6 separate regions of the Homo sapiens genome follow, and regions 1, 2, 3, 4 and 6 are each linked to region 5. The links are contacts of gene promoters, found by promoter capture Hi-C in blood cells and fetal thymus (Javierre and others, 2016). All regions are on one chromosome and are shown on one strand. The core of a region is centred on a gene start or on the middle of the fragment in contact, and the rest is flanking DNA. Distances in the headings are between cores, read along the strand shown.

Region 1 (4,287 bases), core at 889-3,388, 660 kb before region 5:
CAGGATCCTGGGTGCCAGAGTTCAATGGCAGCACAACCACCAGTAAGGGAGAGGTTATCCCAATAGAAGGCAAGATGATCATGACCAGTCTGAGAATGGCCAGTCTGACAATCAGAATTGCCTGCACATCAAAGATCTTTGGCAGAAACTAATTGAATATGAGCTCTTAGGACAAATGAGATGGGCGGTCCTCTGTGGACCTGCTTAATATAGTTGACAAAAGCAAAATAAAAACTCCCTAGATCTGAATTAAACCATCCCATCAGAGAATGTTGTACCCGCATCCAACTCTCAGACCTGAACTTGGATGCCAAAGAAGTGGTAAATTCCTAATCCCAGCTACTCGGGAGGCTGAGGCAGAAGAATCGCTTGAACCCAGGAGGCGGAAGTTGCAGTGAGCCAAGATTACGCCACTGCACTCCAGCCTGGGCAACAGAGCGAGACTTCATCTAAAAAAAAAAAAAAAAAAAAAGGCTGGGCACGGTGGCTCACGCCTGTAATCCCAGCACTTTGGGAGGCCAAGGCGGGCAGATCACGAAGTCAGGAGATTGAGACCATCCTGGCCAACACCATGAAACCCCGTCTCTACTAAAAAAAAAATACAAAAAAATTAGCTCGGCATGGTGGCGGGCGCCTGTAGTTCCAGCTACTCAGGAAGCTGAGGCAGGAGAATGGCGTGAACCCAGAAGGCGGAGCTTGCAGTGAGCCGAGATCACGCCACTGCACTCCAGCCTGGGCGACAGAGCAAGACTCTGCCTCAAAAAAAAAAAAAAAAAAAAAAAAGGCCGGACGGAGGGGCTCACGCCTGTAGTCCCAGCACTTTGGGAGGCCGAGGCAGGCAGACCAGCTGAGGTCAGGAGTTCAAGACCAGCCTGGCCAACATGGTGAAACCCCGTCTCTACTAAAAATACAAAAAAATTAGCCAGGCGTGGTGGTGGGCGCCTGTAATCCCAGCTACTCGGGAGGCTGAGGTAAGAGAATTGCTTGAACCCGGGAGGCAGAGGTTGCAGTGAGCCGAGATCGCGCCATTGCATGCCAGCCTGGGCAACAGAGCGAGACTCCATCTCAAAAAAAAAAAAAAAAGAAGTGGTAAACTCCCATCACTTTTTCATCTAACTGTTCAGTTGGTACACAGATGGAGGGGTCTTGGAAAATAAAACAGGTAATCATAAGCTTCATATGGTGGTGACTTCAATACAGCAAGCCCACACAGCCTCTGGAGGAAAATGGTTTTTTTCTCATTCCCAATAAGTGAAGAACTCCAAAAGCCACTTTGTCTCATCTAGTAAGGATACTTTCCTATCTCCTTCAGGGTTAGGTCAACTCTGGCTTCATGCCACAATTTGGTCTTCAGAACTCTTAATCATTTTAATGTTTTTTGGACATCACAGTGATACTATATTAATGACATCATGCTATGAGGACCCACAAGGCAGAGATGGCAGTTATTCTAGGCATGTAAGAAACATGTAAATCTCATGAGTCTACAGGGGCCTGTGACCTCACGGAAGCATTTCAGGGAGTCTAGGTTGAGATAGCTCCTCCAAAATGAAGGATGAGATATTACAGCTGACACCGCCTCCTACAGGAAGCAGAAGCGTAATGCTTTGAGGTCCTATTTATGGAAGCAATATTTGTCACATTAGTGGGCTTCTCTGACCCACTTATGGGGTGTCTCAAAAGGGAGCTAATTTTGAGAAGGGGCTCAAGGCAGAGGAGATGCTCCATTTGGTTCAGGCTGCAATGCCATCTGTTTTGTCATCCATGACTCCGTGGATCTAACGGTGCTCAAAGTGTCAATGGCAGATTGGAGAGGTGTACATTACCTGTGACAAGCCCTGTTAGGAGAATCACAGTGTCAGTTATAAGGGTTTGGGAACACATACATGCCTTATTTGTCAAATAACTATTTTTCTTTTGAGAGAAAGAGATGGCTTGCTCCTGGGCTGTGGAAGAGACTGAATGTCTCATCAAGAAGGCAGATTACCATGGAGTCTGAGCTGCCCGTCTTGAGCTGCATGTTATTTTGATCCATCAAGCCACCAAGTCAGGTTCCCCAAAACACCCAGCTCTACTGGAGGCTCTCAGCATTCAGGTGGACATGTCTACCTGCCCTGGGTATGGAAGACATCTTCTGTCCCCAGTTAGCCCACTGCTTATTCAATGGGCTCATGGACACAGTGACCATGCAGGCAGGGACTGACTGATCCATTTTGTAACAATCTGGACTTCCCCACCAAGGCTGACCTGGCTTTTCATGAGTATCGCCAGCCAACTCTGAGCCTTTCAAGAGGTTTCAAACTCAGGGGAAGTCCTAGACAGCCACCTGAAAGCAGATTATATAGACCTCTTTAATCACGTAGGATATCAGCAATTTGTCCTTGCTGTAATAGACAATGTTTCTGAACTTGGACTGACTTTCTTTGCCTCCTGTGCCTGCGTTATTGTCCCGGGACTTTCTGAATGCATTGCTCATCATCATGGTATCCTATACAATATTGCTCTGACCAAGGACCTCACTTTATACTAAAAGAAGAAACGTGGTAGGCTAATTTCTGTCCCTCAAGTAGCAGCTGGCCTTATCCAGTGGTGGAATGACCAATTGTAGGCTTAGTTATTGTGCCTGCAGGACAACAATGCACAGAAAGGTAGCATTGGTGTCCTATAATATATAGAATTTCTTCTGAACCCAAAGCTGACATATCGTGCTATTTGTCCTGCAGTCAGGATACATGGCTACAGGAACCAAGAGAATGGCACCTTTCACTAACACTCAGTGACTTACTTGCAAATTTTTTTGTTTCCCGTTCCTTCGCCTCTAGGCTTGGCTAGTTTGAAGGTCTTAGTAACCAAGGAGGAACTCTTCTACCCCAGGAGATTCAAGTGTGGTTTAAGTGAAATAAAAGTTGAGACCCTGGCTATTTCAGACTCCTCATGCCAGTGGGTGAATTGTAAAAAATAGTATGATGGTGTTGGCTGTGATGACAGTAACTATTAAGAGGAAGTAGAGTTGCTGTTATATGATGAGCAATAAAAGGTGAATAGACAGAATTCAATCATGGTAGTGCCTCTTGCTGCTGGCATGTCCAGTGGCAAACATTAACAAGCTTAGATTCCTCAGAAATCAGGGCTACCCCTGACTAGCTGAGATCCCTGATGAAGGGAAAGGGAAATTTTGTAACGTCCATTAAGGAGAGCAATTACAGCTTTATGACCAGTCAGAAAAACAACAACTCTAACTTATATTTTTTTCTTGCTGTGTCATATGTATGTATTTTATAAATTGATGCAAAAGTAATTGTGGTTTTTGTCATTACTTTTAATTGCAAAAAGCCACAATTACTTTGGCGCCAACCTAATAATGAATTCTCCTTTCCTTTACATTTTTTTCTTCTACTATTTTATACAGGACAAACTAGTGATGGATAACTTAATAATTTAGTCCGTAAGATACAGAATGTTGAGATGAGATGGTGACAGAATTGGAGGAATGGCTATCACCCAGAGCTCCTGGGCTTGGAGCTGGACACAGAAAATGATGATCCTTTTGGGGGAAAGAGGGAATGTGTTTTTCTGTTTTCTTCCTTCCTTCCTTCCTTCCTTCCTTCCTTCCTTCCTTCCTTCCTTCCTTTCTCCTTCCTTCCTTTTTTCCCCTCCCTCCCTCCTTCCTTCCCTTCCTTCCCTTTCTTCCCTTCCTTCCTTCCTGATGGAGTCTCACTCTGTGGCCCAGGCTGGAGCTCAGTGGCGTAATCTCAGCTCACTGCAACCTCCGCCTCCTGGGTTCCAGCGATTCTTGTGCCTCAGCCTCCCTAGTAGCTGGGATTACAGGCATGTGCCACCACACCCGGCTAATTTTTGTATTTTTAGTAGAAACAGGGTTTCACTTGGTTGGCCAGGCTGGTCTCGAACTCCTGACTTCAGTTGATCCACCTGCCTTGGCCTCCCAAAGTGCTGGGATTACAGGTGTGAGCACCTGGCTTGGAATGCTTTTCAATTGTACAAGGGTTATTAAGTGGGAGCATCTTTATTGTATTTTCAGAATTGTAAAGATGATAAGAAACATTTGACACTAGGTAGTCAAAGAGGTGAACTGTTGTAGCCATCTGGCATTCTTTTTGTCTGCTTTGAAGTCATGATAAAGATGCTAGTTTTTCCTAAATCCATTCGCCCCTTCATCCATAATTACAGAACCATGGCTTTCAGCTGTGTACAATGCCACGTGGACTAAAACTACGTTTCCCAATCTCTTGTAGCCAGCTTGCTAGGGTAATTAAGTCCTAGCAATGA
Region 2 (4,859 bases), core at 803-3,302, 520 kb before region 5:
CAAAAATTAGCCAGGTCTGGTGGTGAGCATCTGTAGTCCCAGCTACTCAAGAGGCTGAGATGGGAGGATCACCTGAACTCAGGGGGTCGAGGTTGCAGTGAGCCAAAATCACACCACTGCACTCCAGCTTGGGGAAAAGAGCGAGACCTTGTCTCAAAAGAAAAAAAAAAAAAAAAAAAAAGAGTTTCTCCAGGTTATATGCTTAGGAATAGAACCGCTGAAAGTATATGTTCAGCTTTTTCAGGAAATGGCAAAATGATTTCCAAAACAGTTTTACCAATTTATCAGCCCCTCAACAATGAATGGGACTTACTGTTGAGCCATATCCTATTTTTTTTTTTTTTTTTTTTTGAGACAGAGTCTCACTCTGTCACCCAAGCAAGAGCGCAGGATCACAGTCTTGGCTCACTGAAACCTCCGCTTCCTGGGTTCAAGTGATTCTCGTGCCTCAGCCTCCCGAGTAGCTGGGACTACAGGCACATGCCACCATGCCCAGCTAATTTTTGTATTTTTAGTAGAGACAGCGTTTCACCATGTTGGCCAGGCTGGTCTCAAACTCCTGGCCTCCAGTGATCCGCCTGCCTCAGCCTCTCAAAGTGCTGGGATTGCAGGTGTGAGCCACTGTGCCAGCCCATATCCTCATCAATATTTAATATTAATCTATGCTTTAATTTTTGCCAATCTAGTTAGCATGAAAGATTATCTTTTTTCTTATTTGCACTAAGAAGGTACAATGTTCATATGTTTTATGACACATTTATATTTCTTCTTGTGTAAAATGTCTATTTATATCTTTGATTCACTTTTCTGTTAGGTTATCTTCTTCATACTCATCTGCAGAAATCAATACTGCTTCTTCCCTATTCTATTATATTCTTTTAGAACTCCAATTAGATGTATTAGACATTCTCACTCTATTCTCCAGGTATCTTAAGTTCTCTTTAATATTTATTATCCCATTGTCTCTTTAGATTTCATTCTGAATAATTTATTTGCATCTATCTTCCATTCACTTATTCATTAATTCAGCCTATTTACTGAGGCCCAACATAAGATTTGCACTGCTTTAAGTGCTGGGGATATAAAATTAGAAGAAAAAAAAAAGACAGACAAAAATCTCTGCCCTCAAGGAGTTTACATTCTCATAGGGAAAAGGGGGTGCAAAATGAATGAACAAAGTACAGAATGTCAGATGGTAATAAAGTGATATAGATAAAACTAAGGACTGGAAACAGACTGCAGAACTGGGGCTGCTAACCATTTAAAATAGGACAGTTACAGAAGGTGTCATGAAATTTTGGCAAGGAGCAAGACATGCAGGTATCTGGGGGGACAGCATTCCAGGCATTGGGAGTGAGTGCAAAGATCCTAATGCAGTAAGCTTGCCCCATGTTTTTGAGGAATAAGGAGGACTATACAATAGGCAAGAAGGAGAATTAGACCACTATAAGATTTTAGCTTTTACTGAATCTGAGTTATTTTCTCACACCAACCAATTCTCCAACTCTGAGACCAACTGGGTGGTGTCCAACAATTCAATTCTGACACTATCCACCATCAGTGCAGACCTACAAATTAAGGGCTGAGTCCCACAAGATGGCCCCACTCCTGACACAAATCTCAGGTCCTGAGCCACTTGTTCTTCTGACTGGCTATCAATTGTGGGTTCCTAGCACTTCCATTGCAGGTTTGATAATTTGCCAGAATGGCTCACAGAACTCAGAAAGACACTTTACTTACAGTTATCAATTATAAAGGATACAACTCAGTAATAACCAAATGGAAGAGATGCATTGGGCAAGCTACTAAGGCAGAGGGATGTGCAGAGCCTCCGTGCCTCTCTCAACATGCCACCCTCCCAATAAGTCAATGTATTCCCCAACCCGGAAGCTCATCAAATCAAGTTGTTCAAGAGTTCTTACGGAGCTAAATCTCCAGCACCCACCTCTCCCCTTCCTGCAGATTGGTGGGGCCAAAAGTTTCAACTTTCTAATCACTTGGGTCTTTGTGGTGACCAGCCCCCAATCCTGAGGCTATCTATGTAGGGTCCCCGTCTTAAGTCATTTCATTACTATAAACACAAGTGTGATTGAAAGGGGCTCATTATGAGTAACAAAAGGCACTCCTATGACTCAAATTCCAAGGGTTTTAAAGGGCTCTATGTCAGCAATCAGAAATAAAGACCAAATATATTTTTGGATGACACCATGTGAGACAGGAAGCCAATGGGGAGTTTTAAGCAAAGGGTGACAGGAATTTGGTGAGGATAGAATGTTTCTCTTTTATATTTGTGTGGTCAGGGACATTTAAGACAAGAGATGTCAGATAAAGTGACACTTTAGCAGAAATCTAACAGAGTGAATCATATGAATACACGAGAAAAGTGTGTGCTAGGTAGAAGAAACAGTACAAAGGCTTTCAGGCAAGAATGTATCTGCCATGTTTAAGAACAACAGGCAGGCCAATTTGGCTGGAGCTTATGTATAAGGGGGGAAGACTGTGGAAAAAGCAGATTTGGGGGAAAAGATCAGAAATGTGGTTTCTATATCAAGTTTGTGATATCTATTAATCCTCCAAGTGGAGATGTCCAAAAAGAAGTTGGATACATAGATCTAAAGCTGAGAATCCTAGTCTTGGAGACTAACACTGAGAGTCCACTGTACATTTGGTATTTAAAGCTAAGAGACCAGAAGAGATGACTAAGATAAAGAGAAGAAAGAGTACAAGCTTTGAACCCTGAGGTTCAAATGATTAGCAGTCAATGGCAGGGGAGGAACAAAGAAAGAATGCTAAGACAGACTGGTCCACTAGACAGGAAGACAATCAGAAAAGTTTAGTATCCAGGATGTCAGAATAAAAATTATTTCAAGGAGAGTGAGTGATGAGTTGTGAAAAAATGCCGCCAACAGGTAAAGCTGAGGTTTAAGAACAAACCGTTGGCCTTAGCAACAAGGAGGACATCGGCGACCTTGCCAAGAGCAGTTTCAGAGGTGCGGTAGGAGCAAAAGTCTGATTAGAATGGGCTGAAAAATAGAAGAACCAGCAAAGGAAGAATAAATTAAATCTAACTCTTGAATTTTCTAGAGGGAACAGAAAAAATAGGCAAAGGCAGAAGGAATATGTGGATGAAAAGATAACTTTAAAACAGTAGAATTAGCAGCATGTTTTATGATATATAGTCTGGCTTTATCTCTTCACTCAAATCTCATGTCAAATTATAATCCCCAGTGTTGGGGAGGGGCCTGGTGGGAGGTGTTTGAATCATGGGGGCGGACTTCCCCCTTGCTGTTCTCCTGATAGTGAGCTCTCATGAGATCTGGTTGTTTAAAAGTGTGCAGCACTTCCCCGATTGTAAGTTTCCTGAGGCCTCGCCAGCCATGCTTCCTGTACAGCTGTGAGTCAATTAAATCTCTTTTCTTTAAAAATTACCCAGTCTCAGGCAGTTCTTTACAGCAATACAAGAATGGACTAAGCCAGGCACAGTGGCTCACGCCTGTAATCCCAGCACTTTGGGAGGCCAAGGCAGGCAGATCACTTGAGGTCAGGAATTTGAGACCAGCCTGGCCAACATGGCAAAACCCCATCTCTACTAAAAATACAAAAATTAGCTGGGCGTTGTGGCAGGAGCTTGTAATCCCAGCTACTTGGGAGGCTGAGGCATAAGAATTGCTTGAGCCTGGGAGACAGAGGTTGCAGTGAACTGAGATCGAGCCACTGCTCTCCAGCCTGGGTGACAGAGCGAGACTCTACTCCAGGAAAAAAAAAAAAAAAAGAATGGACTAATACATGATGACAGTAAAATTCCATTTGAGAAGGAAAAACTGATGATCCAGGAAAGAAAGAGAAGATTACTGGAGCCATGTCCATGAGCGGCAAACAAGGAATGAGACCTAACATACAAGTGAAGGGGCTGCCTTTGATAAAAGCACACAGTTCATCAATGGTAACCAACAGGAAGTCAAAATATGTGGGTACAGAGACTAGTAAATGGATAGATATGGGTTACTCTGTGGAATTTCTCTTCTGATTGCTCCAATTTTAGTAAGGTATGAACTGAGAGTAAGGATAGATGAAAAGGTGATGGAGAATTAAGGAGAAAGAAAAAAGACATGAAATGGTTGTCTAATTCAATAATCATTTCTTCAGCTGGATATGATCAGCTATTTAATCTATCCATCGAGTTTTAAATTTCAGTTCTAGAACTTCTAATTCATTATTATTAAAATCTTTTTGGCCACTCTTTAAAATCTTTTTTCCCTTCTATACTTCAAGTTTCTTTTTATTTGAACACATTAAACATAGTGATATTAAATTATCTGATAATTTCAGAACCTAAGGTCATTATGTGTTTGTTTCTGTTGTCTAATATCTGATTCATGGTGCCCTGTTTCCTTGGGTGTTTTGTGATATTTTACTGCTAGCTGTTTATTCTCCTTGGCACTTCATCTTCAATAATTTTTCGAGGTTTGAGTTGAAAATAAATTCCTCCAGAGGTGATGGATATTTGCTTTTATTGGAAACCCAGGGCACACAAATTTGGGACTGCTATGAATTTTCCCAGAATAAATATTTGGCTTGCGAACCTGTGTGAGGACTGTCTCATGGTTACAAATTCTCAAAAGTTTCTTCCCTGCTTCTCCCAGCAAGTTTCTTTTATTCCCTTTACTTAGAATGGGTTTCATTTCTCGTTTACCCTTATACTGAGGATGTAATTGTTTGAAGTCCAGGCTCCAAACAGCTACATCCTCAATATAAGGGTAAACGAGAAATGAATTATGGTGGAGGCTCCTATTAGTTTCCTCTCACTGGGCAGACACGGGGTTATTTCTTGCCCACTCCACTCCATGCAACTGCTAAAG
Region 3 (4,479 bases), core at 665-3,164, 730 kb before region 5:
ACTACCTTTTACTGCAGCCTGCAGTCTGTTGTCAAATATGGTGCTTTTCCTTCAGTTCCCTCCCAACAATACAGCACTGTGAGCCCCCAGCCTGCTCCCCAGAAGCACTTCTGACTCTACTCTATGCCATCTGTGTTTCTGACTATTTCTGGGCTTCTGGGCCCCAGCACTGCCTGTTTCAGCTGCTACAGGATCTCTGTATGGAGATTCTTCTCTATCTTCACCCGCACGTGACACGGGCCCCACGACTTCCCCATGCCCTGTGGTTGAGGGAAACCCCAAGCTCAGTAGGCCTTTTTTGGCCTGTGCCTTCAACACTCCTCCTTCAAAAAACCCCACCCCAGCCTCTGTCACACATCAGAGCTGTCTCTGAAGCTGTAGTCTGTGCCTGGAATGCTCTTACCCTTCTCACGAATTCTCTCCCTTTTTGGTACTCAGGCAGCTTCTGAAACTCCTATTGGTCCATCCATGGGACTTTCCTCAGCAACTACAGGAGGAGAGCAGTTCTCTACTTTGCTGGTTCAGCACAGCCTGAATCCAACCTGGCTGAGGTCAAGGCTCTCCATTTACTGGCTGTATAAGCACGGGCAGGTTTCTAAGCTTCAATATCCTTGTCACTTGTATGGGATGTTCATAGTTAAAATCGAAGGATTGTCGTGAGGATTAGATAAGGTGATTCATTAAATGCTCCTAGCTGGGCACAAAGTAAGTATTCCGTTAATATCAAACCATCGTTGTTACCTAAATGTACAGTTTTCGTGATTCTTATTATGTCAATATTTACTGAGAATCTACCATGAGCCAGATTCTATACTAGAAATTCAAAATGCCAAGACCGTTAAGGCACAGTCCTTTCTTTGAGAAGCTCACAATCTATCAGGGAGACAAACACAACAATAACAGTGCGATGCTTTAAGAAATACACAAACCAACAAGAGATATCGCTTGTTGAATGCTGCTTCTGCTAGATGCTTAATGTAGCATTCAATTTAATACTAATAACTGCACAAGCTAGTAGCCCTATGTAGTGAAAACAAGGTTTGCAATGATTAGATAACTTGCCCAGTTTTACACAGGTAGTGAAAGAGCTAGGATTTGAATCCAGTTTGTCCGACACCAAAGCTATTATTCTTTCTGCCGCGCCATCCTGCCCATCTATGGAAGGAAAGGTTTCTCCCTTTATTTCCACCCACAAGATCTATTTGCTCCATTGTTTATACATAATGCTCACGATCTATCTGTGCATGCTTGTGCTCCTTTATTTCATCAGTATCTCTTGGCCTGAGTAAGTCCAGTATATACGGTAAATTCTCTGTCATTTACTATTTATAGCCCTGCACTCGCCTCACATTGCCCAGTCCTTGTAGGACGTAATATTGATGCTGTGTCTCCTACTAGGACAGTGTGTCCCTGTCACTCCTTTAGAATTAGTAGTTCCAAACACATTCATCATCGAATACTTACTTTTATATTGTGCTCTGGACATTTTCTAAGTGTATATAATAATTCGGTCTTTTTCTCTAGTCATTTCGTATGTTTTTCGGGGATAAGAGCTCATTGGGGGCAAGGCCCATGTGCTTTATTTGTTTTCCTGACTTCGCAGAGCCTAGCCCAATGCTGCATACACATTAATAATGTGCACAGTTCTTAACCATTTAAGAACTCACTGATATGTTTAAGAATCATCTGATATCTGCAGTACCAATGGTACCCATAATTCTGTAATATACCAGCTTTAAAAAAAAATGAAACCTTGCTCTTTTGAGATTTATACTCTTTTCTTGATGGCTGTCATCCTGATGAGGCAGAAACACAAAATTTAAGAAGCAGGTCTCAGGCTGTGTGTCTATAAGAAGCCACGGTAACTTTTCTTTTTTTGTGTGTTTGATTTTTGAGATGGAGTCTCCCTCAGTCACCCAGGCTGGAGTGCGGTGGCGTGATCTCGGCTCACTGCCACCTCCACCTCCCAGTTTCAGGTGATTCTCCTGCCTCAGTCTCCTGAGTAGCTGGGATTACAGGCATGCCACCACGCCCGACTAATTTTTGTATTTCTAGTAGAGATGGGATTTCATCATGTTGGCCAGGCTGGTCTCGAAGTCCTGACCTCAGGTGATCCTCCTGCCTCAGCCTCCCAAAGTGCTGGGATTACAGTTGTGAGCCACCACACCCGGCCCCAAGGTAACTCTTCTCTCTGACGATTCAGACAAAAGTCCAGGCAGCTGAGTGGGAAAATAGCTCAATTGGCTATTGCTCTGAAGGAGGCATTTGTTCTAATCTCACTCTCCTGTGAGGATTGGTAACTGACCATGTATGGCCATGGAGCTTTCTTTTATTTTCCAGATGTCATATAGATGTGAATGTATTAGTGTTCCAATTCCAGGGAATTCGCCTAATTCATGAATTTTTTTTTTAATTTTATTTGAGACGGAGTCTCGCTCTGTTGCCCAGCGTGGAGTGCACTGGCGCGATCTCGGCTCACTGCAAACTCCGCCTCCTGGGTTCACGCCATTCTCCTGCCTCAGCCTACCGAGTAGCTGGGACTACAGGCGCCCGCCACCACGCCCGGCCAATTTTTTTTTTTTTTTTTTTTTTTTTTTTTTGTATTTTTAGTAGAGACGGGGTTTCACCATGTTAGCCAGGATGGTCTTGATATCCTGACCTCGTGATCCGCCCACCTCGGCCTCCCAAAGTGCTGCAATTACAGTCGTGAGCCACCGAGCCCGGCCAATTCATGAGTATTTTAAACAACCCACACTCAATTGTGATCTCAGATAAAAATGACACCCTTGGCCGGGGGCGGTGGCTCAAGCCTGTAATCCCAGCACTTTGGGAGGCCGAGGCGGGCGGATCACGAGGTCATGTGATCGAGATCATCCTGGCTAACACGGTGAAACCCCGCCTCTACTAAAAAAATACAAAAAATTAGCCAGGCGTGGTGGCGGGCGCCTGTAGTCCCAGCTACTCGGGAGGCTGAGGCAGGAGAATGGCATGAACCCGGGAGGCGGAGCTTGCAGTGAGCCTAGATCGCGCCACTGAACTCCAACCTGGGCGACAGAGCGAGACTCTGTCTCAAAAAACAAAACAAAACAAAACAAAACAAAAAAACACTCTGACAAAGGATGAGAGTGAAGCAGGATTTGGTGTTCACTTTATTCTGTTTTCAAAGGCGATTAGGATAAAAAGTACCTTGGGAAAACACAATTATGTCCACCTATGTTTGGGAAGATGCCAAGCTTTTCAGGGTAAAGTTTAATTCCTATAGTTCTACATCCTGTTTTCCCATGAACGTTTTCCTGGTTCATTATCATCAGACCTCCAGCATTCACTGCTGGGGTTCCACTTGCCTTTTGTTGTTATTTTAATTTTTAATCTTGATTTATGTAATTTTCAACCTTACATAAAAATTGCAAAAATAATACAAAACGATTCCATATACCCTTATATTCCCATATCCCATATACTCAGATTTTCCTTAATATTAACATTTTGCCATGTTTGCTTTCTCTCTGTCTTTCTCTCTCTCTGTCTGTCTCTCTCTCCACACACTCACACATGCATGCACACACACACAGACACATCGATACATATATATATACATAAATTTTTATCTGGACCATTGAGGGTAAGTTGCAAACATGATACCTCTTTACCTCTGAATGCTTAAGTATATGCTTCTTTAAAACTAGAACATTCTCTCACCTAGCCATAACACAATTGCCAAAATAAGGAAATTAACATTGATATCATACTATAATCTAATTGACAGCTCTTATTCAGAGTTCACCAGATGTCAATATAATGTCTTTTAATAGCAAAAGAAAATACCAGATTACAAACTGCATTCAGTTGTCATGCACTTTCAGTCTTCTTCAACTTGAAAGAGTTCCTCAGTCATTCCTGATCTTTCATGACCTTAACTTTTTTTTTAGAGATGAGATCTAGCTATGCCGAGGCTGGAGTGCAGTGGCTATTCACAGATGTGATCACAGCATGCTATAGCCTCAAACTCCTGGACTCAAATGATCCTCTCACCATAGCCTCTCTAGTAGCTGGACTACAGGGACAAGCCATTGAGCCTGGCCCTTGACATTTTTTAAGAGGACAGACCAGTTATTTTGTAGGCTGTCCCTCAGTTTGGGTTTGTCTGGTGTTTCCTTCATAATTAGATCAGATTTTGCATAAATTTTGGCAGCAGTAACAGAGAAGTGATATTGTGTCCTTCCTAGTGCAACATATCAGGAGGAACATGTCCATTTGTCCTAATGCTGATAGTGTTTACTTTGATCACCTGGTACATTTATACCTCCTAATTTCTCCACTGTAAAATTACTAGGTTTTCTTTTCTAATTAATAAATATATTGGAAACAGATAATTGGAAACTACATAAATATTCTCTTTCATTAAACTTTTACCCTCTAATTTTAACCCCATTAATGACTCTTACTAGAATCAATTGTTATTGTAATGGTTGCAAATAT
Region 4 (4,765 bases), core at 1,352-3,851, 680 kb before region 5:
TACAAAAATTAGCCAGGTGTGGTGGTGGGTGCCTGTAATCCCAGCTACTCGGGAGGCTGAGGCAGGAGAATCACTTGAACCTGGGAGATGGAGGTTGCAGTGAGCCAAGATTGTGCCATTGCATTCCAGCCTGGGCAACAAGAGCAGAACTCCATCTCAGAGAAAAAAAAAAAAGGCATATATACGTGTGTGTTGATTTGTGTATAGAATAAGACATGCATTTAAAAAAAAAAAGGTAGGATTGCAAGTGGGGTTTTTTCTTTTTCTTTTCTTTTTCTTTCTTTTTTTTTTTTTTTGGAGACGGAGTTTCGCTCTTGTTTCCCCGGCTGGAGTGCAATGGCGTGATCTTGGCTCAGCACAACCACCGCCTCTTGGGTTCAAGCGATTCTCCTGCCTCGGCCTCCCAAGTAGCTGGGATTACAGGCATGTGCCACCAGGTCTGGTTAATTTTTGTATTTTTAGTTGAGACGGGGTTTCTCCATGTTGGTCAGGCTGGTCTCGAACTCCCAACCTTAGGTGATCTGCCCACCTTGGCCTCCCAAAGTGCTAGGATTACAGGTGTGAGCCACCGCACCCAGCTCCGGTTTTTTTCTGTTTCTGAATTTTCCTATGTGTGCTGCATGGAACCATTATAATTAATTTTAAAAAGCAAATATATTTCATTTGTCTCTTGAAAACTTAAAACAACTCTTTATAAGAATTTTACATGTGCAAGATGGTATACTATATAGTCATTTACAATAATGTTTTAAAAGAATATTCCATAATATGAGAAAATATTCATGCTATATTTAGTGGAAGGAATAGGTTATGTAAAATATACTGTTTTTGTTTGTTTGTTTGTTTGAGATGGAGTTTTGCTCTTGTTGCCCAGGCTGGAGTGCAATGGTGTCATCTCGGCTCTCTGCAACCTCTGCTTCCCAGGTTCAAGCGATTCTTCTGCCTCAGCCTCCTGAGTAGCTGGGATTACAGGCATGCACTACCACACCTGGCTAATGTTTTGTATTTAGTAGAGATGGGGTTTCACCATATTGGTCAGGCTGGTCTCGAAGTCCTGACCTCAGGTGATCCACCCACCTCAGCCTCCCTAAGTGCTGGGATTGCAGGCATAATCCACCACACTTGGCCAATATACCATAATTTTTAAAAGGGCATTTACAGAAAGACTATCAGTAAGTCTGGTATAATACATATAAACTGTGGGGTTACCAGGAATGCATATCTGCTTCTTTATACTTTTCTGTATTTTCCAGATTTTTAATTATGAATATGAATATGAGTATGAAGCTATAATAAGAAAAGTTATTTGAAAGTCACATTATCAAATTGTTCAGGTTATCATGGCCAGGCAGGGTGGCTCATGCCTGTAATCCCAACACTTTTCGAGGCCGAGGTGGGCAAATCGCTTGAGCCCAGGGGCTCGATACCAGCCTGAGCAACATGGCAAAACCTTGTCTCTACAAAAACTATAAAAATTAGCCAGATATGATGGTGCACACCTGTGATTCCAGCTACTAGGGAGGCTGCAGTGGGAGGATTGCTTGAGCCCAGGAGGCAGAGTTTGCAGTGAGTCATGATTTCACCACTGCACTCCAGCCTGGGCAAAAGAGCAGGACCCTGTCTCCAGAAAGAAAAAAAAAAGTGTCAAGTTGAGAGACAATGGTTATTTTTTATTTTTGAGATGGAGTCTCGCTCTGTCACTCAGGCTGGAGTGCAGTGGCACCATCTCGGCTCACTGCAACCTCCATCTCCCGGGTTCAAGTGATTCTTCTGCTTCAGCCTCCCGAGTAGCTGGGACTTCAGGCACGAGCCACCTCGTCCGGGTAATTTTTGTATTTTTAGTAGAGACGGGGTTTCACCATATTGGCCAGGCTGGTCTCAAACTCCTAGACCTCATGATCCGCCCACCTCGGCCTCCCAAAGTGCTGGGATTACAGGTGTGAGCCATTGCGCCTGGCCAACAATGATTATTTTTAATTTTATTCCATGGTTTTCTATATTTTCCAAATTCTTCTCAATAACATAAAAATGATTTCATATTGTATTAATTACTACAATGCAACATTGTAAGGTCGGGGGACGCTGATGGTAGTCTACCTCCTGATCCTCTAGTATGCAGTATTTCACCCAGGGTTTTCACAAGCAGTTTCTCATTTGGTCCTCAGAGGACCCTATACCTAGGTGAGGATGGCGGTGCTGCTTCTGAGAAGTCGCTGCCTCCCCTTCTCCCTTTAGCCTCCCTGGCAAAATAAGACACTTCGATTGCGGGGCCACAGTCAGTTCTGACTCTGATATCTTACGACACCTATCAGGGATCAGCCTGGACCTGTTACCTGAGCGGGGTGTGGCCTCCTTTCCTCTGCGCTTTCCCCACACCTGAAACTCCTGATCATTCAGCCCCTTACCTCTCCCAAGCTTTCAGCACGAGCTCTCCTTCTTAGCCTTCTAAATAAATAAACAACACCTGCACAGAACACTGCCATTTTCTGTAAGCTTTTCTTCCCCTTTAAAAATTGCAGTAAAATATACATAAGACAAAATGTATCATTTAAATCATTTTAAGTGTACAATTCAGTGGGGTGATATACATAAGGCAAAATGTATTATTTAAATCATTTTAAGTGTAAAATCCAGTGCCTTTAAGTCCCTTCACGATGTCGTTGCAACTGTCACCACCATCCAGCTCCGGAACTTCTTAATCATCCGTGGGTAAGCTTTTGAAGCTTTTGAATCCATAGTCTCATAACATTTTATTGCCGTCCTCATCGTCAGGTGAGGAAACTGAGGCTTTCTTCCTTACCTTGCTTTTGTGTTTTCTCTTTAACACTTGCACTCTGGCTTTTGCCCGTGGCTGTCCTGGAACTGACTCCCTTCAGGCTGTCAAAGGCCTCCTGGGGGCTGAGTTTCATGGGCTGCTTCCTGGTCTTGTCTTGTTTCTGGTCTGCAGCATTTGACAATCTTGTTTTCCAATCTCTCTTAGAAATTATCTCCTCCCCAGGTTTCCATAATACTCTCTGTCTTGAGTTTCCTACTACTAATTCTTGGGTGTTTTCTTGTCCTTTTCTTTTCATGTTTTTCTGTTTGATTGTTTTGTTTCTTTTTGTTGTTTTGAGACGGAGTCTCGCTCTGTTTCCTAGGCTGGACAGCAGTTGCTTTATCCTAGAACTTATGATGTAGCTGCCTGTGTGCCCATCTGTCTCCACAACAGAGCAAGGTCCTGGAAGCAGAGGTCGGGGGCGTGGGGGAGGTCTTGCTTGTCCTCTTTATGTCTCAGTGCTTAGTGTACCTTATATTTGGACAATGAATAAATAAATGTGCGCTGCTCTAGAAAAGAGATCATTGTCTCAATGGAGTGAAAATCAGTAAGGGGTAGGTCTCGGCTCACTGCAACCTCCACCTCCCTGGTTCAAGTAATTCTCCTGCCTCAGTCTCCCGAGTAGCTGGGATTACAAGCGCTCACCAACCCGCCAGGCTAAATTTTTGTATTTTTAGTAAGAGATGGGGTTTCACCACATTGGCCAGGCTGGCCTTGAACTCCTGACCTCAGTTGATCTGCGGGCCTCGGCCTCCCAAAGTGCTGGGATTACAGGCGTAAGCCACTGTGCCTGGCCCCTTTTCATGTTTTTATGTTTTGAGACGGAGTCTCGCTCTGTCACCCAGGCTGGAGTGCAATGGCGTGATCTCGGCTCACTGCAACCTCCACCTCCCTGGCTCAAGCGATTTTCCTGCCTCAGCCTCTCAAGTAGCTGGGATTACAGGCGTGAGCTACCACCCGGCCTCTTTTCATGTTTTTAAATTAGTCTCCCCTTTTTATTTTATTTTATTTTTTAGATAGAGACAGGGTCTCGCTATGTTGCCCAGGCTGGTCTCGAACTCCTGGACTCAAGCAGGTTCTTTTCTTCAGGCTTCTCCTTCTCCTGCCTCAGGAACTCATCCTCACTCCCTGCAACGTTTCAATAAGCACTTGCCTGGTTTGCCTGCCTCTGGCCTTGCTAATTAGACAACTACGATCTTTCTACCAGGAAAGTGTGATCCTGCCCTCAAGTCTACAAGGGCGGCCTGAGCTGACATGATAACATCTAACCTCTTTAGTTAGATATAGGATGTCCCTTGTCATCTGGCCCCTGGTGACCTCTAACAATATCCCCATCCCACTCCACCCCTTTACAGTCTGCAGTAGAACCGTCTGCAGTCCCAGTGCTGGAAGCCCAGGCTGCCTCATGCCTCCCTGTCTCTGCATACATGGTCGCTTTATCCTAGAACATATGATGTAGTTGCCCGTGTGCCCATCTGTCTCCACAACAGAGCAAGGTCCTGGAAGCAGGGGTAGGGGCGTCGGGGAGGTCTTGCTTGTCCTCTTTATGTCTCAGTGCTTAGTGTACCTTATATTTGGACAATGAATAAATAAATGTGCGCTGCTCTAGAAAAGAGATCATTGTCTCGATGGAGTGAAAATCAGTAAGGGGCAGAGTAAGGACTGGACATCAGGTCTTGGAAAGTTCTGACCCTTCCCACTATGTAAACATCCTTTCTACTGAGGGACCTCACGGGGTGACAAAGCCTTAGAGGAAATGTACGCAGTCTCTGCATGGTCCTAAGAAAATAAAGGAAATAAAGTAAGTGTTGTAATCCTGGACTGGAGTAGAAAGACTTCTTAGGGGGAGGCATTTTAAGGAGGGTGGAGAGGGGGATGCTTCCCGCCTCCGGATCACAGTCTACGAGAGCTTGCTGCTTTAGATGAGCCCACACCAGACCGAGACACAGG
Region 5 (4,900 bases), core at 1,348-3,847:
CAACCTTCACCCTGCCAGGTTCAAGCGATTCTCCCACCTCTGCCTCCAGTAGCTGGGATTACAGGCATGTGCCACCACACTCGGCTAATTTTTGTGTTTTTCTTTTTCTTTTCTTTTTTTCTTTCTTTTTTTTTGAGACGGAGTTTCACTCTTGTTGCCCAGGCTGGAGTGCAATGGCACAATCTCGGTTCACTGCAACCTCCCCCTCCCGGGTTCAAGTGATTCTCCTGCCTCGGCCTCTCGAATAGCTGGGATTACAGGCATGCACCACCACACCCGGCTAATTTTGTATTTTTAGTAGAGACGGCGTTTCTCCATGTTGGGCAGGCTGGTCTCGAACACCCGACCTCAGGTGATCCGCCCACCTCAGCCTCCCAAAGTGCTGGGATTACAGATGTGAGCCACCACGCCTGGTTAATTTTTGTATTTTTAGCAGAGATGGGGTTTCACCATATTGCCCAGGCTGGTCTCGAACTCCTGGCCTCAAGCGATCCACCAGTCTCGGCCTCCCAAAGTGCTGGGATTGCGGGTGTGAGCCACTGCACCCGGCCCAAATAGGGTCATATTCTGAAGCACTGGAAGTTAGGGCTTCAACATATCTTTGAGGGGGACACATTGCAACCCATACAGTATTCTTGGAACTGTAAATCGCGTTTTTGTACTAGAAATTCACTGCCCCTTTAGGCACTATGTATTCCTCTAATCTTATTTGTTACTCTTTTACGACTTTAAGAAATACAGAATTTGGTCAGTTTTAGCTGAGAGAGTAAACTTTGATGACTTGCATCAAACAGGGACTGGCACACAACTCCTGGAATTTCCAGTAAGAGAATGTGAATGGGGGACAGTTGCCGACTAGGTGCCTGAAAGATCATTTTTCAAGAAACACGTCAACAAACTTTGAGGGATACATGATAATTAAAAAACTAGCTTCAACCCGGGAGGCGGAGGTTGCAGTGAGCTGAGCCAAGATCGTGCCAGTGCGCTCCAGACTGTGCGACAGAGTGAGACTCCGTCTCAAACAAACAAACAACTAGCCCTTATAATCTTTTTTTTTTTTTTTTAGACAGGTGCATCTTTACACAGTTAAATTTCACTACTTCTTTTTTTGCAGATAAAAACTCAGGAGTTGAGAAATGAATAAACATAATAATAAATATGAGAAAACCATCATGATTTATCAAGCCTGGATAAATAATTTAATAAGTTCAGCATAGAAGACCTTGCTTTTTTTTCTTTCCTCCTTTTCTTCTTCTTTTTTTTTAACTTATTTATTTCAATAGGTTTTTGGGGAGCAGGTGGTGTTTGGTTACATGAATAAGTTCTTTAGTGGTGATTTGAGAGTTTGGTGCACCCATCACCTAGGCAGTGGACACTGCACCCAATGTGTAGTCGTTTATCCCTCACCTACTCTCACCCTAGCCCTTATAATCTTAAGATTTTTGGCTATTTAGGGCCATCTCATTCCTCCCTCCCTTCTTTGTTGCATTCTCTCTCACCTACTCCATTCCCCCCACCTTCCAAGTAAGACCATCTTTGGTAAGATGGTCTTGGTAAGAATGTGATACGCATTATAATAATTTTTCAAATCTTCAAAATTGAGGTATAATTACATACAATAAAATGAGAATGGCATGCAAATTTGTGCCTTTTTTAAAGCTTAGTAAATGTCATAATTTGGTTATAGTTTTTATTTTTCTGGATGCATTTGCTTTTCCTTACATCTACCATGCTCAGCCTTACAGAGATTTTTCTAGATGAATTTGCTTTTTCTCACATCTACCATGCTCGGCCTTACAGAGCTGCCCTTTATTTTAGAATTCCCTAAAGTGCTGTGTTGTACACAGGGAGCTTCTCCTGACTGGAACAACCTTACCTGGTACCACTCTTCCTTCAGGACCCAGATTCTTCTTTGAAACCTTTCCCTGGCCCCTTTGAATACTCTAGCTCTTTTAAAATGTATGTGGTTCTTTTTTCCCTGTTCAATTATTAATCTAACTAGGTTGTGAGTTCCTCCTCCAAGGACGTGAGGGTGCGATGTAGCTTGTCTGATTTTGCATTCCAAGTGTGTGCCCCAATGCCTGACACATAGTAGGTGCTCAATATATGTTTACTGTCAATAAGTTACAATTAACACCCCCATATGGTAATTCAGAGTTTTCATAGCGCGGTCAAACGATCTCATTTAACGCCTACTACAACCCTAAAAAATTCTAATTACTACCATCCTATCATTCTTGTTTGTAGAGTGTGGAGACTGAGAGGTTAACTGTCTTGCCCAGCGCAAGTCAACAGCAAAACGGAACTAAAATTTCAGGCTCGACACCACACAGCGTGTCGAGATCAGCACGAACTTGGCGCTGTGACTTTTCCTTAGAGGGGCCACTTAGGCTTACACTTCCGGATCCTGGGCACACAGAGACGCGAAAAGCTCCCGCGGGAAACTGGGGAGCGGGACTACATCTCCCAGAGAGCCCCGGGGCTAAACAGCAGGTGATTGGTTGATATTGACAGCCAATGCGGCTGCGAGGAGCTCGGGCAGACCAATCACAGGCCGGAAGGGGCGGGACCTCCCACGCCGAGGATAGATTGAGCGCAGAACTAACCGCGCTCTGAAAGGTTCTAAATGTCTGCGGGGCTCAGAGCCGGATGTCACGTCGTCCTCCTCTGCCGGTTTTCTCTTGGGTCCTTTTCCGTGCCGTCCCGCGACTCCGCCTCTGGCCGCGCGTGTCTGGCTGCTAGGCCGACACCAAGGACTGGCCGGGTACCCGGGAAGAAAGCACGTGCTCCAGCAGTTGCCGCGCCCAGCCCCGAGAGAGGCCCTAGGGCGCTGCGGGCTTTCGGGGTCCGCAGTCCCCCCGCGACGCGAGCCAACGGGAGGCGTCAAAAGACCCGGGCCTTGTGTGGCAGGCTCGCCTGGCGCTGGCTGGCGTGGCCCTTGGCCGTCGTCACCTGTGGAGAGCACGTCTTCTCTGCCGCGCCCTCTGCGCAAGGAGGAGACTCGACAACATGTCACCCGCGCTCCAAGACCTGTCGCAACCCGGTAACGCTGCGACCCCGTCTGCGTGGTTGGGTTGTGTTTCTTAACTCGTGCTGTGGCCTCCTAATCCCTGGGGCGATTCCCTTCTGCGGCGGGAGACGCCCGGCGGTGTTTCCCCGCGTGTGGGCGGCACCTTTAGAACTTAGCGCAGGAGCCCGGAGGGCTACGTGTTTTGCTCCACTCTTTGTCCGACCTTCACCTCTTTCTCCCCAGGCAAGCCATCAAAACCTGCAAAAAGCGTCCTCCCCTCGCCCCCGAAACACATTCTTAACGTCACAGTAACTAAACTTTCCAGTTCCACGCAGCATAAACCAGCTGGGCCCTCTGGAAGTTTTTTTTTTTGCATGGTGTGACGCTTATTCGTAAATATGTATTGCGCACCTACTGCGAAAGAAAGTTCAGGCGCGGAGAGACAGACGAGGAAACTCAGAGAACTATTTAAAACTACTACATGGAACTTTTTATTTTCTGCTTCTACGCACGCTGCTGCAAAACTGCAATATGCATAGACTCACTATGTTAAAATAGATGAGCAGACCCCACCTCCAGATACCGAAATGGGAGGTAGTAATTTCAAGCGATTCTGATGTTGGTGGCCCTGGGATCAACAGTGAGAAAAAGCTAGTTTAGCACGAGAACTGAACGTAATGTTAGCTTTATAACGAGCTCTAGATCTCTAAGGTCATGCCTGATTATAATTTGAGGACAAATACACCCGTAAAAACGGGTGAGGAGATGTAGAAACGAGAATTAGTGATAAGTACAAAACAGTAAATATCCTATCACATAGTGGGGATGTTTAGCTTCAGGAAGAGGGGGAATACTAAATTCGTAACGCACAAGGAAATTTATCAGAGGTTAACCGGTGACTCTCTTGATTCTTGGGTTCTGATAACGGGACTGATATAATTGTTCTTGAAACTAGTGGAACTGTGGCTGAGAAACACATCACTGCTGTTATTAAATAAGATATAAACCTCCCTATGAGAGGTTTATATGTTATTTAATATATTAAATAAGATGTAATGAGGTTACATCTTATTTATATTTAATATTTAATTAATAAATGTAAACCTCCCTATAAGAGATTTATATCTTATTGAATAAATGATCATAGGGAGATCATATTTATTTGGAAAACATCTTTTACTCATGATTTCTGGCCTCCCCCTTCCCATTTAATTTAAACAAGTAAAGTTATTTCCCTTTCATCTGAATTTAGGTGTCATTATCAGGAGCAAAATGCCACTGAAGACTTAAAATACTGTGAATAGTGAGTGATTTAAAAAAAAAAAATAAACTGAAAGGAAAATTGTTGAATGTTTGAATCTTGCCTAGTCCCCTCACCCCCAAGGCTGGCTTCTAGAGTTGAGCACTGAGTGGAGTTTAACCAAGTCTAGGGCCTCTGAAGTTCTGAATCAGGCCATTGTGCCTAGAAAAGACCTTAGATGTAGTCCAGCTTCTGTCTATGTGAGCAACTTTTATTGGGATTAGAATCAGGTTTTAACTTCCTAATAACCCTTAGTAATTTACTGGCGTACAATCTTAATGAAATTTTAATGGAGAGCTGGGAATTCCTGATTCTCAAGGTTGGGCCTTAAAACTAAATGTGACTTCAGACCATGGTTGTGTGCCCTGGGGAAGGAGGATGGTGGGCTAGCAAATACATCTTGGGAGAAAATTTTAACTACAGCTTCTAAAAGTTTCTTGGTTTCATCCTTGCTTAGGACTGTGAGTGTTATTTGGAACTCAATTGATGAGTGATTAATGAAGGAATGAATAATCCAGTGAATTGGTATCAATTGATGAGTGATTAATGAAGGAATGAATAATCCAGTGAATTGGTATCAGCCTAATTCT
Region 6 (4,404 bases), core at 280-2,779, 700 kb before region 5:
CAACCCACCTCACACTAACAGAGACAGAGGGGTGGTCCAAGGGAAGTGAGTGAGAAGTTACCTGCAGAAGAGGGAACTTTTGAGAGAAGGAACCAGGTAGCTGTGAGGCCCTTGAAAACAGAAGGCTGTCAAGGCAGATTTGAAGGGAGAATATATGTGAATTAGCAAGTGCAGGAGATAGAGAGAGCACTAACTATTAGAAAGAAATGAAAATAGGGCCAGGCGCGGTGGCTCACACTTGTAATCCCAGCACTTTGGGAGGCTGAGGCAAGTGTATCACTTGAGGTCAGGAGTTCGAGTCCAGCCTGGCCAACATGGCGAAACCTCCCCACCATGTCTACTAAAAATACAAAAATTAGCTGGGTGTGATGGTGTGCACATGTAATCCCAACTACTTGGGAGGCTGAGGCAGGAGAATCTCTTGAACCTGGGAGGCGGAGGCTGCAGTGAGTCAAGATTGTGCCACTGCACTCCAGCCTGGGCGAAAGAATGAGACTCCATCAGAAAGGAAGAAAGGAAGGGAAGGGGAAAAGAAGGGAAGGGAAGGGAAGGGAAGGGAAGGGAAGGAAGGAAAGGAAGGGAAGGAAGGAAGGGAAAGGAAGAAAGGAAGGGAAGGGAAAAGAAGGGAAGGGAAGGAAGGAAAGGAAGGGAAGGAAGGAAGGGAAGGGAAGGAAGGAAGGAAGGAAAGGAAGGGAAGGAAGGAAAGGAAGGGAAGGAGGGAAGGGAAGGAAGGAAGGAAGAAAGGAAGGAGAAACTAGGAATAGGGAGAGGATAAAGAAATTTTAGTTTTTGAAAAAGCTGTGTTAAGCTAATCAAGTCACATGAGATCATGCAGAGATGTGGCTACCATAGTATCTAAAGAAAAGGACTCTGAGGCAGGCAGCCTGCCTGGGTTCAAATCCTGCCTCCCCCACTTATTCACTGTGCAATCTTGGGCAAGTTACCTAACCTCTGCCTCAGTTTCCTCATTTGTGATGGTTGTTGTAAGGATCAAGTTATTGCACGTAAAGTACTTAAAACAACTCCTGGCCCATTAAGCACAAGAGACCTGTGTTTTGTTCTTGTACTATCTTCCTCTTCATCATTATGTACCTATAAATTAACTAACCTGGATGTTACTGGCATTTCAAGATTTCCTTGCACAGTGCTAAAAGTCACTGTTCAAATTGTGCTCACAATCTGTGCACTCTTATCAGAATATGGGCAAGAAGTTGGACAGAGTTGCCCTACTAGAGAAAGTGGGTATATAGAGAGCATCTTTTACATATTTGCATTGGGGCTGTCTTTCATCACAATGGGAGCAGAATTTGACAGGCAGTAGGGTGGATGAGGTGCAGCTCCACACTAACCAGCTGAGCCATGTGAGCAAATATTGAGCACATCAACCCCATTCATCATCAGGCTTTTTTTTTTTTTTTTTTTTGAGACAGAGTCTCACTCTATTGTCCAGGCTGGAGTGCAGTGGCACTATCTCAGCTCACTGCAGCTTCTACTTCCTGCTTTCAAGTGATTCTCGTGCCTCAGCCTCTCAAGTAGCTGGGAATACAGGTGCACACCACCATGCCCGGCTAATGTTTTTGTATTTTCAGTAGAGACAGGGTTTCATCATGTTGGACAGGCTGGTCTTGAACTCCTGACCTCTGGTGATCCACCCGCCTTGGCCTCCTAAAGTGCTGGGATTACAGGCATGAGCCACCGAGCCCAGCCATCAGGCTCCCTCTAACACGTGTTTACATTTAATCATTCGATTTGCATAAATCTAGCTTCTTGCCTGCCCTAGACATGTGTGGCTTTGTTGCAAAGCTAGACATGCTTTAAAATTAATTTGAAATGCATGTAACTTTTGCTATCCCAAAGATGGTAATATAGCTGCATAGCATTCCTAGAGACCTCCAACACTTCCTTCCTTCCCGAACAGAGCATTTAACTCTCTTCTCAAACTACCGACTGTCTGGGGCGGTGTGCCATGATGCCCCGGGGGAAGCTCCGTGGATCTGGAAGGCAACTCGGGACATCTGGTCTGGCCAGCCCACCCACGTAATGCATTCAGCAGACCTGCCCCCTACACAGAGGGCTGAGCCTCTGAGCTCCCACAGGCTCTACCTTATAAGCAAAGACTGAAGAGTCTTTGTTCATAAGGAAGAGAGAAGAAAGAAAAGAAGCAATTAAACAGAATTGCAGGAGCTCCTAGAGTCTGTCAGTTTCTTCAGAGCCACGCCAGGGTCTCACCTATCTTTGTAGGCTGCTCAGTAGAAGTGAGGCACCCAGTGGGTGCTGGCTGAGGTCTCCTCTCCCTCGGCAGGGTCCCTTCTGATGGCCTCCCTCCTCCATCTGCAACAATCCCCCGCACCCCTGTGGGCTTCCTTCTTCCCACCACCTCTGCATGCTGGGCCCTCTGGGTTCTGTCTTCTTCCTATTGGAAGCTCCCTTTCCAAATGACCTCCTGTCCTCTGCTGGCCCAGACCTCCCCTTATGTGCTGTGAATCCCCCATCTCCAACTCCAGCCCAGTCTCTCTTCTCAACATGCAGTGGCCGCTTCCATCCATGTCCCCCAGGCATCCTAAATTCAGCACTTCCAAAACTGGAATTCACAGGTTTCCCAAATGCACTTGCACGCCTGGGTTCCTCATCCAGCCCAAGACACCACCTTTCCCCGACTCGCTCTGTCTAAAACCCGAGTCTTCTTCGACTTCCTTCCCTCTTTCCCTCGTGCCTAACGATAGTAATAGTATTGCTCATATGCATTGAGTACATCCAGTGTGCTAGACAGCATACGAATCCCCAGCAGTTTCCTTTGATACACCTACTACATGAGGCAGGTACTATTATCAACAGCATTTTATGGATGAGGAAGTGGGGTGCAGAGAGCTGGCTCGAGGGGGCAGAGCTGGTGGAGAGCTGGACTGAGACTGGGATCTGTTTGATTCCAGAGCTTGAGCCTTTTGCACCACTCTGCTCCATCTTTGACCGCCACACACCCTAAAAACAAAACAAAACCCAAAACACTCCACCACTGAACAATTTTGGTGACCACCGTCCCACCTCTGGGAGGGCTGGGAGTCCCCAGAAAACACAGAAGTAGCTCCCAGGCCCGTAATTCACCCCAACATTTTTGGTTCTAGAAACCTGGCAAAGCAGCCACATTGGCCCAAGCCAGCGACACCGCGCGGCCCCGCGCTTCCCACAGCCCTGGGCCCGGCAAGGCTGAAATCAAGTCTAGAAGATGGCAAGGTGGGAAGGAACGCTCCTCTTTCATCTTGCTTCAGAGAAAACCTTCGCCAGTCTCAGCATCATCAGTACACACGTGGCCTGCTCTTCAGCGGATCTCACCAGTAACACCTTCTGGCATTTGGGCTAGAGACCGGGCCCCTGAGGCCGCCCTGGGAAGCCTGAGGTGTGGAGGGGGATTCAGGATGTGCCTCTGTTCCTGTATGTGCAAGTGTGAGTATGAGTGTGTGTGTGAATGTGGAGGTGGGTGAGTGCATGAATGTGTGTGTGTGAATTTGAGTGTCATGTGGGTGTCTCTGTATGCATGTGTGTGTGTACATGGTGTCTTTGTATGCATGTGTGTGTGTGGGTGTTGTGTGTATGTGTACGTGTGTGCATGTGTATGTAAATGTAATTCTGTGGGTGTGTGTGAGTATATGTGTCAGAGTGTCATGTGGGTACATGGGAGTGTTGTGTGGGTGTGAGTGTGTGAGTGCTATGTGAGTGTGTGGTGTGTGTGTTTGTGTGTTATGTAGGTGTGTTTGTGGGTGTTGTATGTGTGAAGGTGGCCGTGTATGTGGGTGAGTGTTATGTGGGGGTGAGTATGTGTACGCGTGGGTGAGTGTGGGTGAGTGTTGTGTTATGTGGGTGTGAGTGTGCATGAGTGTGTGAGTGCTATGTGTGTGGTGTGAGTGTGTTTGTGTGAGAGTGTTATGTGGGTGTCTGTGGGTGTTGCGTGTGTGAATGTGGATGTGCATGTGGGTGAGTGTTACGTGGGTGTGTGTGTGGTGTGAGTGTATGTGTGAGTGTTATGTGGGTGTTTGTGGGTGTTGTGTGCGTGAATGTGGATGTGCATGTGGGTGAGTGTTATGTGGGTGTATGTGTATGCGTGGGTGAGTGTGGTGAGTGTTGTGTCAGTGTGAGTGTCCATGAGTGTGTGGTGTGTGTGAGTGCTATGTGAGTGTGTGTGTGGGGTCTGAGTGTGTGTGAGAGTGTTATGTGGGTGTTGTGTGTGTGAATGTGGCTGTGCATGTGTGTTATGTGGGTGTATGTGTATGCGTGGGTGAGTGTGGGGAGTGTGAGTGTGCATGAGTGTGCATGAGTGTGTGGGCACAGAATTTATCTGATCCCAAACCATTTTCACACCTACTCTCCCATTCGGAGGCCCATTAAAGGCCCCCCAAGCACTCCCCTGTC

The links. Contacts are between HindIII fragments. The CHiCAGO score rates a contact against its expected background, and 5 or more counts as called.
Region 1: a fragment that was not itself captured here is called in contact with the fragment with the promoter of MTR in region 5 in 3 of 17 cell types (activated CD4 T cells, naive CD8 T cells and total CD4 T cells); the score reaches 8.3 in activated CD4 T cells.
Region 2: a contact is called between a fragment that was not itself captured here and the fragment with the promoter of MTR in region 5, in 3 of 17 cell types (total B cells, naive CD4 T cells and neutrophils). The highest score is 6.5, in total B cells.
Region 3: a fragment that was not itself captured here is called in contact with the fragment with the promoter of MTR in region 5 in 5 of 17 cell types (naive B cells, fetal thymus, total B cells and 2 more); the score reaches 6.6 in naive B cells.
Region 4: a contact is called between a fragment that was not itself captured here and the fragment with the promoter of MTR in region 5, in 2 of 17 cell types (naive CD4 T cells and non-activated CD4 T cells). The highest score is 5.8, in naive CD4 T cells.
Region 6: a contact is called between a fragment that was not itself captured here and the fragment with the promoter of MTR in region 5, in 1 of 17 cell types (total CD4 T cells). The highest score is 5.3, in total CD4 T cells.

The regions. Positions count from the first base shown.
Region 1 is chr1:236,136,078-236,140,364 of GRCh38, forward strand. No RefSeq gene overlaps it. Among named protein-coding and RNA genes, the nearest start is that of GPR137B, 4.3 kb to the right of the region's middle. The HindIII fragment of the contact is 1,934 bases long and covers 1,172-3,105 here.
Region 2 is chr1:236,273,651-236,278,509 of GRCh38, forward strand. The region is part of intron 1 of ERO1B (endoplasmic reticulum oxidoreductase 1 beta); the gene reads right to left. Among named protein-coding and RNA genes, the nearest start is that of ERO1B, 5.9 kb to the right of the region's middle. The HindIII fragment of the contact is 1,346 bases long and covers 1,380-2,725 here.
Region 3 is chr1:236,066,752-236,071,230 of GRCh38, forward strand. No RefSeq gene overlaps it. Among named protein-coding and RNA genes, the nearest start is that of NID1, 3.9 kb to the left of the region's middle. The HindIII fragment of the contact is 2,633 bases long and covers 599-3,231 here.
Region 4 is chr1:236,115,575-236,120,339 of GRCh38, forward strand. No RefSeq gene overlaps it. Among named protein-coding and RNA genes, the nearest start is that of GPR137B, 25 kb to the right of the region's middle. The HindIII fragment of the contact is 221 bases long and covers 2,492-2,712 here.
Region 5 is chr1:236,792,695-236,797,594 of GRCh38, forward strand. MTR (5-methyltetrahydrofolate-homocysteine methyltransferase) reads left to right here and starts at 2,598. Exons shown (of 33, transcript NM_000254.3): 1 at 2,598-3,043. The coding sequence starts at 3,010. RefSeq lists enhancers at 2,624-2,913, 3,014-3,203. The HindIII fragment of the contact is 5,693 bases long and covers 1,658-4,900 here.
Region 6 is chr1:236,097,820-236,102,223 of GRCh38, forward strand. No RefSeq gene overlaps it. Among named protein-coding and RNA genes, the nearest start is that of NID1, 35 kb to the left of the region's middle. The HindIII fragment of the contact is 9,622 bases long and covers 1-4,404 here.